Regions from separate parts of the Homo sapiens genome. Here region 2 is linked to region 1. The links are contacts of gene promoters, found by promoter capture Hi-C in human tissues and cell types (Jung and others, 2019). All regions are on one chromosome and are shown on one strand. The core of a region is centred on a gene start or on the middle of the fragment in contact, and the rest is flanking DNA. Distances in the headings are between cores, read along the strand shown. Region 1 holds the start of OR52R1 (olfactory receptor family 52 subfamily R member 1). Region 2 holds the start of OR51T1 (olfactory receptor family 51 subfamily T member 1).

What was found. The method cuts DNA at HindIII sites, captures the fragments that hold promoters and counts their contacts. A contact is called where the count stands out against the background at its distance.
Region 2: a contact is called between the fragment with the promoter of OR51T1 here and the fragment with the promoter of OR52R1 in region 1, in 2 of the 25 tissues and cell types used here (ovary and stomach).

The regions. Positions count from the first base shown.
Region 1 is chr11:4,802,886-4,805,651 of GRCh38, forward strand. It overlaps OR52R1 (olfactory receptor family 52 subfamily R member 1), which reads right to left and starts at 1,495. Exons shown (of 1, transcript NM_001005177.3): 1 at 548-1,495. The coding sequence starts at 1,495. The coding sequence ends at 548. All of the region lies in intron 2 of MMP26 (matrix metallopeptidase 26), which reads left to right. The HindIII fragment of the contact is 16,304 bases long and covers 1-2,766 here.
Region 2 is chr11:4,880,500-4,883,402 of GRCh38, forward strand. OR51T1 (olfactory receptor family 51 subfamily T member 1) reads left to right here and starts at 1,401. Exons shown (of 1, transcript NM_001004759.3): 1 at 1,401-2,384. The coding sequence starts at 1,401. The coding sequence ends at 2,384. All of the region lies in intron 2 of MMP26 (matrix metallopeptidase 26), which reads left to right. The HindIII fragment of the contact is 5,093 bases long and covers 1-2,903 here.

The sequences.
Region 1 (2,766 bases), core at 245-2,744:
TATTCAACAGAGTATTGCTTCATCTGTAATCTTATAGGACAATATTTGAATCATTTTATATTTTGTTTTTATAAGGCATGATTTTATGCATGTCTTTGTACATATGCACTTTATTTTTATAAACATATTCTCAGATGAAGAAATATATGTACTTTTAAATTATTTGATGTAAATTTCTAAATTTCTTTTAAGCAAAGTGTACCTACTTCTACTGACAGTGTAAAAACAACTTTTTTACCTTAATCATCTGTGGGAGATGACATTCTTTTAAAATATTCACTGATTTAATAGGTAAAACTACTTTTATTGTTTCCATGTGATGATGAATATGTAGTCAACAAAGTTGTTCTTATCCATCACATCTCTCAGGTATCTCTTTTCTAGGTACCCTGAAAATTGTTTCTCTTGCCTCTAGAGGGTTGCTTACCTCTGAGCCAGTTATTTACAGAGCTGACTTAGTGATAATAAGTAATAGCCTGTCAAATGTTCATTAATGTCCCCACATTAGTGGGGCAATGTAAGTGATGGGGATACACTGACCCTTTGCTCAGGGGATGTTTCCACAACATCCTTGGATAACCCTGTCCCCGATCTGTTTGGTTCTAACTCCATAAATGATGGGGTTGAGCATGGGAGGTATCAGTAGATAGAGATTAGCAAACAGGATGTGTACAACTCGGGGCACATCATGGCCAAAGCGGTAGGTGAGGAAAGAAAAAAGGGCTGGGATATAAAGAGCCAAGATGACACAGATATGGGAGGAACGTGTGCTAAAAGCTTTGAGGCGGGCTTCACCTGAGGGCAACTGAAGCACAGCTCTCAAAATCATCACGTATGACATACCAATGACAATCATATCAAAGCCAGCCACAGAGAAGGCCACAAAGAGCCCATTCCCACGACTTATGCTTGTATCAGCACACACCAACTTCAGCACAGCCATGTGCTCACAGTATGACTGGGGAATGGCTTGGTGTTGGCAGAAGGGCATCCTAGACACCATGAAGCAGAAGGGGCTCACCCACAGCAGCCCTCTCAGCATCACGATGGTCCCCAGTTTGATCACGACCGATGGGGTCAGGATGCTAGAGTGTCGGAGTGGGAAGCAGATAGCCACGTAGCAGTCCAGGGCCATAGCCATGAGCACCCCAGACTCCACAGAAGAAAAGGCATGGATGAAGAACACCTGGATGAGGCAGGCATGGTACTGAATCTCATGAGCATGAAACCAGAATATGGCCAACATCTTAGGTTGAGTGGAGGAGGAGAGGACCAGGTCAGTGATGGCCAGCATGGCCAGAAAGAGGTACATGGGCTCATGCAGGGTGTGGTCAATTCTGATTACATGGAGGAGAGTGATATTTCCAACAACAGCCACAGCATACGTGGCACAGAACGGAAAGGCAATCCACAACTGGAAACTCTCCAGGCCTGGGATTCCAAGCAGGATGAAGGACACAGGATGAGAAGAGCTGTTCCCTGAAGCCAGCACCATGGACTGGTTAATATGGTCTCTGCTGGGAACGCAATCTACTCTCTGCAGATGATAACAATCAAAACAAGTGTTATTATTATATACAAGGCTTTTGGATGGGACTATTGGATACCAGGGTGATTGGGTTTGATTATAAACTAGAATAATTTCAACTGTTTTAATAAATAATATGTTACAACATGACATGATGTTACTGTTGTTTTTCGTACTTATGTCATTCAAAATGGGGTAGAACATACTAGTTGCATGTGTAACTGTTTTTTAAGAATCAATATTTTTCTTGACCAGGTGTGGTGGCTTACACCTATAATCCTAGCACTTTGGGAGGCTGAGGCAGGCAGATTGCTTGAGGTCAGGAGTTCAAGACCAGCCTGGCTGACATAGTGGAACCCCTTTTCTATTAAAAATACAAAAACAAAACAAAACAAAAAAAAACCCCATTAGCCAGGCATGGTAGAGCACGCCTATAGTCCCAGCTACTCAGGAGGCTGAGGAAGGAAAATCACTTGAACCCAGGAGTTGGACGTTGCAGTGAGCTGAGCTCACACCACTGCACTCCAGCCTGGGTGTCAGAGCGAAACCGCCTCAAAAAAAAAAAAAAAAAATGAATCAATATTTTTCTTGAAAGTAGCATCTGCTAAGGGAAAATCATCATGACAAGTAATATTATAGTAATTCTTGCTCTTCAGTTCTATAGAACTAACAGCTGATTAGCTTAAACTTTTCCACAGGTCCTTTTTAAACCTCTGGTTAGCCACTTGGCCAATTTCTCAGAGTAGGAAGTCAGTAGAGTTTGCAAGCCTATAGCAATTTATGTATTGCTTTGAAGTTAGCTTTGAATCTAGGTCAGTTACCACAAGGGCTTGGGTGGGAAGTTAATCTACTGACCAATTGTACATTTATAATTTAATTTATTATCTTTAGTGTAGGTTTCTCCTAGACAAGAAGTTAGCAAACTTTTTTTCTTTAAAAAGTGAGATCACAAAATTTTGAGAAATTGTGGCCTATACTGTCTGTTGCAGCAGATCAATTCAGCCATTGTAGTGTGAAAGTAACCATAGTCAACACATAAATGTGTGAGTGTGGTGTGTTCCAATAAACCTTTGTTTACAAAAATGGGTTGCAAGCAGGTGTTGGTTTCCAGGCTATAGTTTGCCAACCTCTGTCCTAGAAGAGGAATTTTTCATGAAGTCAGCTGTGAACCCCACACTATCTCTAGCATCTCTGTGCTTGGTGCAGAGTAGGAATTTAATAAAATATTCCTGAGGAAA
Region 2 (2,903 bases), core at 151-2,650, 78 kb after region 1:
AGGCAAAAGACGATAGGACTCAAAACTCCCTTTCTGTGGCCATAATTGTTTGGTAATCAATCAATGTTGCTAAATGAAGATTTCTGTTTTTCCTGATCCTGCTTTAGTAACTAGCATTGAGAGATTAAAAACGTGCATTCCCAAACTTTCAAGAATCTCAAACTTCTGGCAGAAGAACACAGTACTTGGATATATAAATTACCAATATCAGTTGTGCCTCATTATTAAGCACCAAGGGAAAGGTCCAAGCAAAATGTGGGGCAAAGATTGAAGCAGAGGGTAGTTTTAGCTTAATATGTCAGGGAACTTTCAGGGTATATTCTGAATTGTGGAGGAAATATAATTCAGTGTTAACAAATTAACAGAAGGTAGGGGTTGGTAAATGAAGAGGATGGGTCTGTAACATTACTGATGCCAGAAAATAGGGATGTTGACCTTTGGGTCACTCTGTTATTGAGTTGAGTGAGTGTTATTCAAATAATTTCACCTGGTCTTCTGTATATGAATGGGCAGATGCTACCTTCTTCCTGGCCAGTCAGATGGAGACTTGTACCTGAAGAGAGAAAGCACTAATATATTGCTCTGGTTAGCCAGCAATGTTGAGAAAACCTTGATAAATTTAGGCACTGAACTTTGACCTACCACTGGCTCCAGAGTGTATGACCTCACAGAGAGAAAGCCCTCTGCTTCTTCTTCTGTCTCCATTCCACAGGAAAGATTTCCCCAGCAGCAAACGGAACCACTGTCTCCTCTCCTCTTACCGCCTTGCATTATCCAGTGTCATTTCTTTGCCTTTATGAGATATCATTCCAAGAACAGAGGATAACTGATATCTGCTTTATAAGCATCTCATCGCTCAGTTACTTTTGCACCCCCAAATGCCCTCTGCATTCATCTGCACGTGAAGACAAAAACAATACAAACATATGTAGACTTTTATACATAATTTTAAAAACACTTGGACTCCACAAACATTCTTCTTTAGATGAGTCATGAGAACATAGTTCTCTATTTTGCTTATTTCTCATCTCTACCCCTCCTGTACATCATATACAAGTATAAAAGGATATTAAAAAATTGTATTTTAAAGGAAGGAAATTACAACATTCAGCTATCCAAATTGTCTCATTAGCCTGGCCTCTCTGATCATCTGAAGTTTAGTAAAAAATAATAGACTTTGGAGTTAGTAAATTTGGTTTTGAATTTGAATCTGTATTGAACTATTTTAGCCTAGATATACTATTTAACCTTCCTGGGTCCATTTCCTTTCTTTAAAACAGAAGAAAAATAACTACCTTAAATTTAAAATTGTATATAAAATGACTAATAAAATGTATGCTATATATATAAAGAATCTTAATTATTTTTCTTTCCTCATAGTTCAGTGTCTTCAACCAACCATGGCAATATTCAATAACACCACTTCGTCTTCCTCAAACTTCCTCCTCACTGCATTCCCTGGGCTGGAATGTGCTCATGTCTGGATCTCCATTCCAGTCTGCTGTCTCTACACCATTGCCCTCTTGGGAAACAGTATGATCTTTCTTGTCATCATTACTAAGCGGAGACTCCACAAACCCATGTATTATTTCCTCTCCATGCTGGCAGCTGTTGATCTATGTCTGACCATTACGACCCTTCCCACTGTGCTTGGTGTTCTCTGGTTTCATGCCCGGGAGATCAGCTTTAAAGCTTGCTTCATTCAAATGTTCTTTGTGCATGCTTTCTCCTTGCTGGAGTCCTCGGTGCTGGTAGCCATGGCCTTTGACCGCTTCGTGGCTATCTGTAACCCACTGAACTATGCTACTATCCTCACAGACAGGATGGTCCTGGTGATAGGGCTGGTCATCTGCATTAGACCAGCAGTTTTCTTACTTCCCCTTCTTGTAGCCATAAACACTGTGTCTTTTCATGGGGGTCACGAGCTTTCCCATCCATTTTGCTACCACCCAGAAGTGATCAAATACACATATTCCAAACCTTGGATCAGCAGTTTTTGGGGACTGTTTCTTCAGCTCTACCTGAATGGCACTGACGTATTGTTTATTCTTTTCTCCTATGTCCTGATCCTCCGTACTGTTCTGGGCATTGTGGCCCGAAAGAAGCAACAAAAAGCTCTCAGCACTTGTGTCTGTCACATCTGTGCAGTCACTATTTTCTATGTGCCACTGATCAGCCTCTCTTTGGCACACCGCCTCTTCCACTCCACCCCAAGGGTGCTCTGTAGCACTTTGGCCAATATTTATCTGCTCTTACCACCTGTGCTGAACCCTATCATTTACAGCTTGAAGACCAAGACAATCCGCCAGGCTATGTTCCAGCTGCTCCAATCCAAGGGTTCATGGGGTTTTAATGTGAGGGGTCTTAGGGGAAGATGGGATTGAAGGTAGGAAATTGTCAGGACACGAATTATGCTTTGGAAAGAAAGGGACTTGGGGCAGTCTTATCCACAGGTGTTTTGGTTGCTGAGTCAATTCCAATTGAATTTTAGGAGTGGGAAGAAGACAGTAATTTTCCCCTGAGCTTATCAAAGAGTTTTATTTTTAATTTTTAATACCATAATTTAAACCAAATTAATTGAGCATATGTCCCTGAACCATTTTAAACAATGACATGACTCCTGTGCATATAAAAGCAGACTAGTCACTTTAATATAGTGGAAAACTTTATCTCCTTTAAGACAGTAATTTTTAGACCAGAAGTAAATTAAAATTTTATTTTCACATCCAGCTGAACAATTTTTTTTTTTCCCTGAGGTGATATTTCCAGTGAGGCAATGAAGGTTGTTACTTGAGCTGGTAAAAGGAAAAGTTACATATGTGCACAAAGGCACACACGTAGAAAGTTATAATTAAAAACTTTAGGAAAATCTTGTACATTGGTTTCAGTTCCTGGTGTCACTT